3 separate regions of the Homo sapiens genome follow, and regions 1 and 2 are each linked to region 3. The links are contacts of gene promoters, found by promoter capture Hi-C in human tissues and cell types (Jung and others, 2019). All regions are on one chromosome and are shown on one strand. Each heading gives the region's core, a stretch centred on a gene start or on the middle of the fragment in contact. The rest is flanking DNA. Distances are from core to core; before and after follow the strand shown. Region 1 overlaps KRT2 (keratin 2). Region 2 overlaps KRT75 (keratin 75). Region 3 holds the start of KRT5 (keratin 5).

Region 1 (4,070 bases), core at 923-3,422, 130 kb before region 3:
AAATGAAGGGGAACTAATCTAACTGCTGTAACATCTGTGTCCCAATAGGTATGAGGATGAAATCAATAAGCGCACAGCTGCTGAGAATGATTTTGTGACGCTTAAAAAGGTGAGCGAGAGAATGTCTTGGCTGGGGGTGGGGATAGGAGTGCTTCACAGCCCCATTGTGTCTAAGCAGCCAGTTTGGAAATCAACTGTGAGTGCAAAAGCAGCAGCCAGAGAAAGGAGTGAGACCCATGGCACATTCTCTTGCAAACAAAATTGTCTCTGTAGGTCAAGCTTCTGGATACAGTTTTCAAAGCTGTTCTGCATTTTTGGTAGAGTGCTTCCCAGTAGTAACCCACTTAAAGCCTCTACTGAATCATGATAAATGCAAACACAAAAATCTCTTTGTATTCTCCTTCTAAAGAGCTGAGGAAGGAATGGGACTTCCCTTAGAATGCCTGCTTAAAGTTGCTGTTGGTTGTGCTGACAAAGGTTTGAGGTTGTAGGCCAAAAGCAAGGGTTCTCCTGCTGGGTCCTGCAGGGCCTTTGGTGTATATTCTGGGGAAATTTCGGAGAGGTGAGATGGACAGACGGGATGAGAGAGCTGAGGACTGTGGAAACCCACAAAGAACATCGTATCCTGTTGTAGAAACACACAGTGTCTCAAGCAGGAGAGAGGGGCTGGTTGGCAAAGCTTGGTCATCTCGAGGCTCTGATGGTCCTGAGGGCTGTGAGCCATGGACGTAGGCATGAAGTCCCTGGCAGAGGTGTATGGTAAACTGCACGACAAAAGAAGTCCCATGGGGACAGGGATCAGGTTGGGGAGCCTGGGATTTTAGAGAGGAGCCAGCAGGGACTGAGTAGAGGGGAGTGGCAGAGAGAGGAAGAGGCCTGTACAGGGAACCATACACCAGAGGCCTCAACCTTTCTTGCAGGACGTGGACAATGCCTACATGATAAAGGTGGAGTTGCAGTCCAAGGTGGACCTGCTGAACCAGGAAATTGAGTTTCTGAAAGTTCTCTATGATGCGGTAAGGAGGCTGCTCCGGGACAGTCCCTTACTTCCCACCCTTCTCACCAAATGAAAGTCCTTTCTGCTTGGTGAAAAAGTGGCAGAAGTGGGGTTTATGGACCAGCTGACTTCAATCTGCCATCATTCCAGGCCACTGGGGGGGCTTTCATAGCATAGGTCTTGTGGGTGAGGAATTTTCTCCTCCGATGTTATGGGAATAAGGTTCAGGAAACACCAGGACAGCTTCCCCTCCCTCCATTCCCCAGATGTCCATTTCCCCTGGGGAAGAGACAAGCCCTGTGCCCATTCCTGTGCCTACTGTACTTCAGAGGTCAAAATGCATTTGTCTCCTATCCCCCTCCCCAACCCAAGGGTGCACAGATGATTTCTGAAACAGGAAGTCCATTTAAGGTATTTGCCATGGACAAGCTTCTGTCTGGGGGCACTTACCATAACTGGCTTAAGTGCTGAATGTTAACTAGGAGGCTCAGAAATACAGGTGCCTCTCACTACAATTCTCAGGACAACCTTGGGAGAGGCCCAGGAGTAGACGGTTACATGATTTTCATCCCACCTAGTGTATGCTTAGTCTGAGGGTCTGCGTTTCCCTTATGCTGGGAGACAGAGGCCTCCTGTCTGCCTGTAGCTATGGCAGGATGTCATGACCAGACCTTCCTGTGTGTTGTAGGAGATATCCCAGATACATCAGAGTGTCACTGACACCAACGTCATCCTCTCCATGGACAACAGCCGCAACCTGGACTTGGATAGCATCATCGCCGAGGTCAAGGCCCAGTATGAGGAGATCGCCCAGAGGAGCAAGGAAGAAGCGGAGGCCCTGTACCACAGCAAGGCAAGTAGAGGGAATGTAGGAAGAGCCACAGCTCCCTGCCATGAGCTGGGTTGCACCCCCAGCTGGAAAGTGTACAGTAAGGTTATTGGTTTTTTGTTTAATGGTAGTTGGGCACCATTCCCAAGAAAGGATGTTGAGAATGGCACCAAGTCCTTTTGGGCATGTGAGACAGTCCCTACCTCTCATGAATGCAGCCATGACATTTAGCTGGGTTGACCCTCCCTGGACCAGTAACCAGCTCTCCTTCACTCCAGTCAGTCTGGAATGTGAGCCAGGCTGGAACTTCCTTGCAAACTGTCCTCTTCTCCCCATATCAGTATGAGGAGCTCCAGGTGACTGTCGGGAGACATGGAGACAGCCTGAAAGAGATCAAGATAGAGATCAGCGAGCTGAACCGCGTGATCCAGAGGCTGCAGGGGGAGATCGCACATGTGAAGAAGCAGGTGAGGCCCAGCCCTGTCCAGCGAGGGGCGGGAGGTTGTCTCTGGGTGTGCGTGAGAGTGTGGTTGTGTGTGAGTGTGCATGTGAGAGATGAGAGACACTGAGATATTGCACTCTAGCATGTATCGATCCCAAATTCCCCAGCTTAACATAATTTATGGCTTATTATAACAATTCTTAGAGTGCTCTAATAGACATTCCAAAGTAAGGATTATCGAAGGGAAAGAATTGTGCTCACTTGTTTATATGAGGAAAAGGGAGTCATAACAAATAGAGCAAACGTTAGTTTGATTGATTTGCTGCAGATTGCCGATGGAGCTTCCCGTTTGTGCTCAGCACAGGCCCTGAGCACCAGCCGACTGGTTTCATAGAGGGGCAGTGAGTATTGAGGGCAGCTGGCCTGGGGCTGGACGTTAGCTTTGGAATAGAAAAGGTAGAGGCAGAGAGTGGATTCCATCAGCAGCAGAAGCTTTGCCAAGCAGACCATTTCAAATGTTTTCATTTCCATCTGTAAAATGGGATCATGATTCAGGCCCTGTGATGTGAGGATCAAAGGGCACTATGGGGAAAGCCAAAGGGTGTCATCAACGGTGACATGGGAAGAAGATGTGCCAGAGACAGCGGCAAGTCTTAGCACAGTTGTTTGCGACTAAACTCCAGAGGGGACCTAACACTCCCAGGGCCAGTGGTTCTGGCTTCCTGCACTTCGAACACCTCTGCTCTCTGTCCGCCTCCGTCAGGCAGAATCCATTCTCTGTCCTTCTGTCATAGTGTAAGAATGTGCAAGATGCCATCGCAGATGCCGAGCAGCGTGGGGAGCATGCCCTCAAGGATGCCAGGAACAAGTTGAATGACCTGGAGGAGGCCCTGCAGCAGGCCAAGGAGGACTTGGCGCGGCTGCTGCGTGACTACCAGGAGCTGATGAACGTGAAGCTGGCCCTAGATGTGGAGATCGCCACCTACCGCAAACTGCTGGAGGGCGAGGAGTGCAGGTGAGGGCACTGGGAAGGGAGAAGGGGACCCTGGCCCTTCCTCTCATCTCTCCCAGAGCCAGGGCTGGAGGCAAAGACAGGGAAAGCAGAGAATGGGGCAGGCCCTCCTGACAACTGAGAACTGACATTCTCTGTGTTCCCCAAGCAGAAACTCAGGACATAAAGCATGATTGGAGAGTTACACATTTATCAACATGAAATGATGCATAAGGCACATTAAATTAAACTAAGCAGTAAGTTAAACATCCTGGTCTTTTCTGAAAGAGAAAACAAAATCATGGGAAAACAGGTTAGTCCTAGACAGTCTGAAACTTTGGTCTCTAGGTCCATAGGGTGAGTGGCTTCTGTGCCCTCCACCGGGTGACCCAGAATGGGGGAGATGATGTCTCGGAATGTGCTGACTGGTGGGGACGTGCTGACCGGAGCAGGTGCCAGCCCCAGTTCTTTGCAGGTTTCTGGAGTGACAAATGGAACCATTTGCTAACTTTCAAAGAGGCACCCTTTGCTTCCTCTGTAGTCTGAGACCTTTGTCCGTATTATCAGCATCTTGGGTGACTTAATCTGGCTGAAGCAATTGGAAGGGGAAAAGCTACCCCAGGCCATCAGCAAGCCAGCATGACAAACAGGGAGTGGCTTTCTTCAGGAGGTTGCTCTGTCCCTGTCTAGAGGCAATGCCTCCTATGCCCAGCTTGTAAGAGGAAGTGGGAAAGTTTTCAGTTGAAGCTGAAGAGGGTGGGAAGAAGAGAGGAATGGGGAGGCTCTACAGAGTCACAGTTCTTTCTGAACT
Region 2 (4,328 bases), core at 1,667-4,166, 93 kb after region 3:
CGAGGACATTGCCAACCGCAGCCGGGCCGAGGCTGAGTCCTGGTACCAGACCAAGGTGAGCATGGACACCTCCATGAGAGGTTCCAGGGTTAGTGTTCTCTGAGGCTCCACATTATCACTTAACTCAGCCTCAGGAAACGTGTGAGCACATTCGTTTATTTCAACTTAGCAGGCATGTCTTTGATGCTATGACAACTTAGCTTGAAATGCATGTGGAAACCGAACCAGACACACTAATACATGGTCAGCCCAATGCTGGGAGCTCAGGACATCCACTGGCCCCACATTCCTCAAGATCTGGGTGGGAGCAGGGTGAGACACCAGGACAACCGAGACACAGTCATGAAGCAGTTTCTAAAAGGCTTATTTATTCTCTATATATTTTCTGAGCTCCTGCTGTATGCCAATCAGGGTTACAGGGTTGCAAATAAATAAACTGCAAACAGAGAACCCAAGCTCTGGGAGGCCATGAAGTGAATGGACAATCATGGAAGGGAAAAGATAGCATGAATAAAAAGCTTCCAGGAAGACATGGGGGCTTTGTACAGTTGGGAAGCCATGAGGGACAAAAGATTGCTGAGGAGTGGGGAGAGGTTTAAGGCTGAACAAGGAGCTGGCAGGCAAGAACAAGCAAGGGAGTTTATGTCAGGAAGAGGAAGGCTGGGATAAACACAAACAGCTACTGCCCAGAGCTCAGACAGCCGCAAAGAAGTTTGGCTTTGCGGGGTACAATTGACCCATGATACCAGCTCCCTGTCAAATCCAGACCCCTCTTGGGGCAGCTTCTCACCTACGAGCAGGTTCCAACTCTTTCCCTGCTCCATACGTTGCCTCATCCCTTCTGGTCAGGAGTGTGGTGGAAAGGAAGGTGGGTAGCAGGGACCAGGGTTCCACAGGGCAGAGGCAGCGCCTTGACGGTGAAAGGAAACATGATGCACTTAACCCCAAGGTGAAGTGGTTGAAATCGATAGCAAACGATTCCTCATGTTGTTGGGTTGTTGCTCCATTTAATCATGTATACCTAGAAGCGGGAACCTGAGCTATTCAGCACTTTCAAGAACCCCACAGATCTTGACTCTGGCAGGGGATCTCCTTTTGTCAGGGAAAGGTGTAGGTTTCACTTCAGTCTGCTGGAGGAGACAGGGTGTAATTATTGCTCTTAAATTCACATGTCCTGGATATGCACCATTAGATTGAGAACTACCTGAGATTGGGAATACTTTTACAAAGTCTTCAAAATTGTGCCTTCCACAGCCTCTGCACCATCCCACACCATTCCCCCATATCTCCTCCCTGTTTCCCCAGCACTGGTGTTTGGAGGGCTACCAAAATTCATGGGCACAGTTGGTCTGGATGCACGCTCTGTGACCAGGAACTACCCAGGGACCTTGATCAAATCACCGTCTCACTCCTAGAACTCACCATGTTCCTTCCCTGACCCAGAGTCTTCATGCAGGCTGTTTCCTTTGTCTGGAATGTTCTCCCCCACAACTGGTCACTTAGGTCCCTCCTTCTCATCCTTCAGACCACAGTTCAAGCATCTCCATCTCTGGAGAGACTTCTCTGACCACCACTTCCCACTTCCAAATCTAGGTCAGATTCCTTCATTACACTCTCCCAGGACCCTGTTCATTTCCTAAGGGCACTTATCTTAGTGTGGAACTATACATTTGATAATATGCTAATTCAGTTAATGTCTATGTCCCCCAATAAACTGTAAGCTTCAGGGGGAATGAGTGAATGACCAGGAATGAATGAGCCTGCTTGTGGCACCCAGGGTGGGTCTGTGTGCACAGCGAGTGCCTGGGCCAGGCATTTGACTCAGTGACTGGGTTTGCTCTGGTTCTCTCAGTACGAGGAGCTGCAGGTCACCGCAGGCAGACATGGGGATGACCTTCGAAACACCAAACAAGAGATCTCTGAAATGAACCGCATGATCCAGAGGCTGAGAGCTGAGATTGACAGCGTCAAGAAGCAGGTAAAGATTTGGCAGGGCCAAGAGCTCCTCAAATGCTCATTTCTTCTGGGCCTTTCTGCCATCTTTAAGAACTCCTCCCCAAGAAGCACCACACCTCCATGGGCTGTCAGCAGGACTCATGGCTTCCTCCTGTCCTTACAGTGTTCCAGCTTGCAAACGGCCATTGCTGATGCAGAGCAGCGGGGAGAACTGGCTCTCAAGGATGCACGGGCCAAGCTGGTGGACCTTGAGGAGGCCCTGCAGAAGGCCAAGCAGGACATGGCTCGGCTCCTGCGTGAGTACCAGGAGCTGATGAACATCAAGCTGGCCCTGGACGTGGAGATCGCCACCTACCGCAAGCTGCTGGAAGGCGAGGAGTGCAGGTGAGGCAGATGCACCAACTTCATCCTCAAAGCAAGTTGAGCTCACCTCAGCTTCCTGGGCATTCCTAGGGGCTCGGGCTGTTGCAGCCCCTTCTTCTCCTGGAAGAAAATGCAGTTCAGAATTGGGCTATGGCAAAAAAATAATTTTAATTTCCTTCCAGGCTAGTAAATCATTTGAGGTGCAACTACAGTTAGCATCCCCATAGAAACCTAAAACCTGATCAGGTCTAAGTAACTGAATTCTACCAAAGGAGACATTTGGTTACATGGCAGCTCTCGAAATGTGGTCTAAAAGGCCATGGGCTGAGAACAAACAGTCCTAGGATTTGGGCTTACAGATCTAACACTAAGTAGCTACATAACCTTGGGAAAGTCAGTCTCCCTTCTCTGGCCCTCAATTTCTTCAATGATAAAATGAAAAGGTCAGATTACATGATCCGCAAAGCTTCATGGGAGCTTTGTGCTCTGCCAGTTAGGAGCTGTGTAGCCAAGAGCAGATACTTAACCTCTCCACCTCTCAGTGTTCTCATCCAATAAAATGTGAATAACAATAGTTCTAAACTCTCACATTATTAAAAGGGTTAAAATAAGGGAATACACACAAAGCTCTTAGAACAATGCATGGTACACAGCGTGTTCGATAAATGTTAGCTATCATTCAGTTTCATGGCCAAAGACATAGGCTTTGGTGTCAGATGAATCTGTCTTCAAGTCCAGCTTTGCGACTATGGGCAAGTTAGTTAACTTGTCTGAGCTTCCATTTCTCCCTCTATAAAAGTGAGCAAATAATACCTACCTCATGGGGTTGTTGAGAGAACTAAGTGGTGTGATATAAGTAACAGGTAATCAACAGCTGTTACCTCTTGTTAAGTTTCTCAGTATGTGTTTATGAATGAATGCCAGTTCTGTCCTGAAGATGCTAAAGCAAAGTTACTTGGTTGCTAAGATAATAATAAACTGATATTACTATTGTTATTTTTATGACTCAGACGCCTCTCCACACCTATATACAATAAGCTCAGCCCTGGCTCAGTGCATGACAATGGTCCCTTGTTGAGAGACAAATCTTATTATAGGACAGGCCCTTCTTTCCAGTTGATGCCAGTATATGATTACTTTTAATTTCCTTAAGGCATCTAACTAGTTTAAACCAAAAATTGTATTTCTGAGATTATAGATTTTGCTCCTGTGAACCTCAAACTCCACCTTATTTTATTCATTAGATTATTAATATTATCTTTAATACTACTAGTTCTCAAATAATTTCAACCTGCATTACTTCTGCAATAAAAATAATAAAGTATGTTTAAATGCTTTGTCAACAATTACAAAAGTGTCATTGCAAAGGCCCTTAAGCTGCTGGCCACATTGGTAACCTTCCTTCTCCCTGCTCTTCCCAATCAGGTTGAGTGGAGAGGGAGTTTCTCCAGTTAACATTTGTGAGTATGACATACTTCTTGGGCCATTTGGAGTGTGTGTGGTAGAGGGGATGGGGATGTGGTGGGCTTGCCAGAGGGTGAAGATATGACGGGTTAGACGGGATCTCACAGACAGCGTTCATTTGGAGAAGGTTTGAGGTTTTGGGTCCCTTAAAAAGCAAGCCATATTAGGAGTCTTTAATGTCACAGTTCTTTCCTCTTTGAGAGTGAGGGTGTCACAGAAGGGGTGATGAGAGGTTTGATGTCATTGTTCTGAGTGGGTTTAAAAGATCCTGGCCACATCTCCTACCTCCCAGAATTCCCTGCCTTTTTGTTGGGGCTGCAAGCCTAGCACAGAGGTGAGCACTTGATGTAGACGGGATTTATGAAAATTCCTGGTCTGGCTTGGACCTTTGAAGGGAGCCTTCATGCTGTGGACAAGAGCATTGCCAACTAGGCAGCTTCTCTCCTAAACAGTTTGAGAAGAAGCTCCACTGCTTGGCTCAACTCTGCCGAGTATAACTGCAGAAGGATGCCAAGGGTTTTCAAGGCAGTAAGGGCAGCATAAAA
Region 3 (4,398 bases), core at 1,899-4,398:
ATAATGTATATACATTCTGTTATACATAGGTTGGTGTAGATATAGGTTGGTGCAAAAGCAATTGAGGTTCTTGCCATTGTGGGCTTCACATAACAATCTGGGGAAGGAGCGGAGGAAGAGGATTTTCTGTCTGTCAATTCACTCCAAAAAATATCTGCAGAACACTTCCAGTGCCCAAGGCTGGGCTGAGGGTGTGGGCCATGCAGAGATGTTCCCTAACCTTGGAGACTGCCCTGCTGGGGGGGACTTAGAGGATATGTACAAATGCTGTTTTATGGAACATGTTCTATTTATCATGCTCTATTAAATGTATCTTCTACTAAAGCCCTACAGATTGGAGTGGAGGCTCTGAGGAGAAGGAATCCTGGGCTGGGATGGCAGGATTTGCCTAACCCTTGTTCCACGAATGGATACCACCCTCTCCCTGGTGTCTGTGAAGGGCTTCTCCATGTATGAAATGCTGACCAGGTCCTACATTCCCTGCACAGCTCTGCGAGAGAGGTCAGGGCAGCCAGCTTACTGTCCTTTCTCTGATGGGGAGAGCAGCAGGGCGGGCCCTGCACTGTCTTCTGCTGACAAGGAAAGCAGCACCCAGAGGAGAAGCTGAGCAACATGTCCCACCAAGCCTGGGAACTGCCTCTGTGGGGTGCCCAGCAGGAAAGCTCCCTGGTGAGCCTAACACAATCCCTCCCTTCCTGCCACAGTGAAATTCCAGGCTGGGGTGGGACTCTCCCGAGCTGCAGTGGTGCTGGTGCCTGGCTCCCCACCAGGAGCGGCTCCATTATTTATACCTGTCCAGGTCTGGCATTGAGGGAGGGGCTGCCCTGCCTGCTCATGGGAGGATTCCCACGAAGCTCGGATAGAAGAGTGCTGCTGCTTCTCCCATGGAGCACCCACATGCTCCCTGCTCCCATGGAGCACCACACACTCACCGTTGGTCCCTGGCACATGGATCTGAGCTTGGCACACTCTAGCAATCCTCAGACTAGCCAGAACGCATTCCTGCTCTGCCAAGTCCTCTTTCTTCACAACACAGCTGGGAGGAGAATGAATGGGGAGAAGAGAATGTCCCAGTGTCTCAGGAGGGGTGGGGCTTCCCTGAGGGCAGTGAGGTCTGTACCCGGGACCTGTGAGTGTATGTGGTGGTGGGGATATACCCCGATATCGATCTTTGAGTGGAGCAGGAGCATCCCACTACGAGTCCTCAGACACTTGCTTCAGGCTTGGATCTGTTCTGTTCTATCAGGAGCCGAGGGTCCCCTGGTATGTCTCAGGCCTCCAGGACACTCACATCTGTTCTCCAGAAAGCAACCAAATGTGAAAATGGTGAGCTCAGCACAATTCATCTCTGAGGGTCTCAGAAATGCTCCAGCCAGGGAGGCCACCCAAACCATTTTGCTCAAGACCTGTAAGACCGGCTCCGGCCATTGGTCTGTCTGCCGAGATTGACCTGTCAGCTGCTTGCTCATCGCAGCCCTCTGGTGAGAAGTCACTGTTTCAGCTGATCCTCAGCACCAGGGAGTCATTTTCCCACTGCCTTGGCTTCCTTGTGGCCAACCGCAGGCCCTGGTGAGAGATTCCTGAGCCTGGGTCTGGTCCTGTTCTTCTACTCTTGAGAATATAGCCCCTCCTCCCTGAGGCTTTGAAGCCATCCCCATTGCATTCCTACCTCCAGCCTCGGGCCACAGGGCGCCCCCGAAACTCTGAACAGCCCAAGCACTGTCCTGCCTGAGAGCCCTGCTTCTATTTGGGGGACGGCAGAGAGGTGGCCCCACTCAGATCTGCTGCCAAAAAGAGTGGGTGTGGTTTAGAACAGACGTGTGTTAAAACCTCATCAGAAACCCCCTTTCCTCCACCTGGTGCCACAACCCCCCAGACAAGTTTTGCAGAGGGGATCTCAAAGGGCCCTCCCTAAAGCAGCTGGCAGATTGTCATGCCAGCTGCCTGGGCCCACAGGCCTGCTCTGGCTAGCCTTTCTGGCAGGACAATCCATAGACTTAGAATCCCGTTTTCCATTGCCTTGGCCCTGAAGGAGGCTGTGGGCTACAGCATAGAGAAAGCAGAGCAAGTCCCGCTGCTTGGAACAGGGTGGTTCGCCGTTATAACAGGCCGTCAGACTCTCAACATGTTCCTGATGAGATTAGAAGCTCCTGCAGGTATGTGTTTGTGGCGGCCTTCAGCCTGTATCAACACATACGATGACTCATTTCTTCCCTAGTGGAATAGAGCTTGCTGGAACACACCTGGGGGGCTGGGGAACCGGCAGAGTAGCTACCCCCAAAGAGAGACGCTATAGCCCATGAGTCTCAGGGTTTTTTTTTAAGGGATTGCATGGGATCCCCGGGTTTCCTAAACCCCCCACAGAGTCCTGCCCAGGCCAAAGAGCAAGGAAAAGGTCAAAGGGCAGAAAAAATGCTGAGTTAGGAGGAGCTATGGAAGGATAAACCTGGCCTTAAAGAGGTCAAAGTGGTTTATAGGGGGCGCTGAGGGCTTCCCACATTCTCTGGCCTAAACCTTGCAGGCAGATCTGCCCAGTGGGCTCTGGGATAGCTGTGCCTTCCCTAAGAAAAAAATTGTGCAGAAAAGGATGAAACTCTATTTTCCCTCTAGCACATAACCAAGAATATAAGGCTACAGATTGCCTTTCCCAGAGGGGAAAACCCTGCAGCAACCTGCTGCCTGGAAAAGTGTAAGAGCAGATCACTGGGGAATCGTTTGCCCCCCGCTGATGGACAGCTTCCCCAAGCTGGAAGGGCAGGTGCTCAGCATGTACCGTACTGGGATGGTTGTCAATACTCCTGGTCCTGTAAGAGTCCCCAGGACACTGGCCATGCCAATGCCCCCTCAGTTCCTGGCATCCTTTTTGGGCTGCTCACAGCCCCCAGCCTCTATGGTGAAGACATACTTGCTAGCAGCGTCACCAACTTGCTGCCAAGAGATCAGTGCTGCAAGGCAAGGTTATTTCTAACTGAGCAGAGCCTGCCAGGAAGAAAGCGTTTGCACCCCACACCACTGTGCAGGTGTGACCGGTGAGCTCACAGCTGCCCCCCAGGCATGCCCAGCCCACTTAATCATTCACAGCTCGACAGCTCTCTCGCCCAGCCCAGTTCTGGAAGGGATAAAAAGGGGGCATCACCGTTCCTGGGTAACAGAGCCACCTTCTGCGTCCTGCTGAGCTCTGTTCTCTCCAGCACCTCCCAACCCACTAGTGCCTGGTTCTCTTGCTCCACCAGGAACAAGCCACCATGTCTCGCCAGTCAAGTGTGTCCTTCCGGAGCGGGGGCAGTCGTAGCTTCAGCACCGCCTCTGCCATCACCCCGTCTGTCTCCCGCACCAGCTTCACCTCCGTGTCCCGGTCCGGGGGTGGCGGTGGTGGTGGCTTCGGCAGGGTCAGCCTTGCGGGTGCTTGTGGAGTGGGTGGCTATGGCAGCCGGAGCCTCTACAACCTGGGGGGCTCCAAGAGGATATCCATCAGCACTAGTGGTGGCAGCTTCAGGAACCGGTTTGGTGCTGGTGCTGGAGGCGGCTATGGCTTTGGAGGTGGTGCCGGTAGTGGATTTGGTTTCGGCGGTGGAGCTGGTGGTGGCTTTGGGCTCGGTGGCGGAGCTGGCTTTGGAGGTGGCTTCGGTGGCCCTGGCTTTCCTGTCTGCCCTCCTGGAGGTATCCAAGAGGTCACTGTCAACCAGAGTCTCCTGACTCCCCTCAACCTGCAAATCGACCCCAGCATCCAGAGGGTGAGGACCGAGGAGCGCGAGCAGATCAAGACCCTCAACAATAAGTTTGCCTCCTTCATCGACAAGGTGAGCTACGATCTTTTGTAAAAAATCACTGTGGGTCTGAAATAAATGCCAAAGAGAGAGAAAGAAGGAAGATGTTTTGGCTTTGTGCAAATACTTTTATAGTTGTACAGTTCTGTGTTTCCGTTTGTTTCTGTGCCCTGGATTTGTGGACACGTTCTGAATTAGACTGGCAGCTGGGAAGGGAGAATTATTTCTTCCCATTCAGAGGTTAGCTCACAAGGGCCTCTTAACAACTGTTGGACAGAGAGATGAATTTCATGCCATATATAAAGGGGCTGACTGTACAGGAAGGTAGACAAGTGCATGGGCAGCAGCCTGAGTGCCTTTGCAGCCACCCCTGAGCCGGGACACACTCCAAGCAGCACTCCTAGTGCTTTCTGTGCCCTGGATAGGTGTCCTATCTCCCCCTGGAAAAGTGAGTTTGGGTGCCTCAGTCTGCACCTCCCCTCCTGGGGCCCAGGGCCAGGCACAGTGCACAGAAAAGCTTTAGAGGGACGGAAAGAGGTGGGAGGCACCTTAGTGAGTTGATCATAGAACATGAAATCCAAGTTTCTCTATCTTCAAACCCTGCTCCCCTCCAGGTGCGGTTCCTGGAGCA

Evidence for each region. Contacts are between HindIII fragments. The study calls those that stand out against the background at their distance.
Region 1: a fragment that was not itself captured here is called in contact with the fragment with the promoter of KRT5 in region 3 in 4 of the 25 tissues and cell types used here (H1 embryonic stem cells, dorsolateral prefrontal cortex, liver and 1 more).
Region 2: a fragment that was not itself captured here is called in contact with the fragment with the promoter of KRT5 in region 3 in 3 of the 25 tissues and cell types used here (H1 embryonic stem cells, aorta and spleen).

The regions. Positions count from the first base shown.
Region 1 is chr12:52,645,953-52,650,022 of GRCh38, reverse strand. It overlaps KRT2 (keratin 2), which reads left to right. Exons shown (of 9, transcript NM_000423.3): 3 at 49-109; 4 at 921-1,016; 5 at 1,686-1,850; 6 at 2,168-2,293; 7 at 3,063-3,283. Among named protein-coding and RNA genes, the nearest start is that of KRT2, 4.2 kb to the left of the region's middle. The HindIII fragment of the contact is 3,386 bases long and covers 480-3,865 here.
Region 2 is chr12:52,426,268-52,430,595 of GRCh38, reverse strand. KRT75 (keratin 75) reads left to right here. Exons shown (of 9, transcript NM_004693.3): 5 at 1-55; 6 at 1,853-1,978; 7 at 2,120-2,340; 8 at 3,745-3,779. Among named protein-coding and RNA genes, the nearest start is that of KRT75, 5.9 kb to the left of the region's middle. The HindIII fragment of the contact is 7,225 bases long and covers 1-4,328 here.
Region 3 is chr12:52,519,144-52,523,541 of GRCh38, reverse strand. It overlaps KRT5 (keratin 5), which reads left to right and starts at 3,148. Exons shown (of 9, transcript NM_000424.4): 1 at 3,148-3,800; 2 at 4,382-4,398. The coding sequence starts at 3,246. RefSeq lists enhancers at 276-1,241, 4,061-4,398. The HindIII fragment of the contact is 8,601 bases long and covers 1-4,398 here.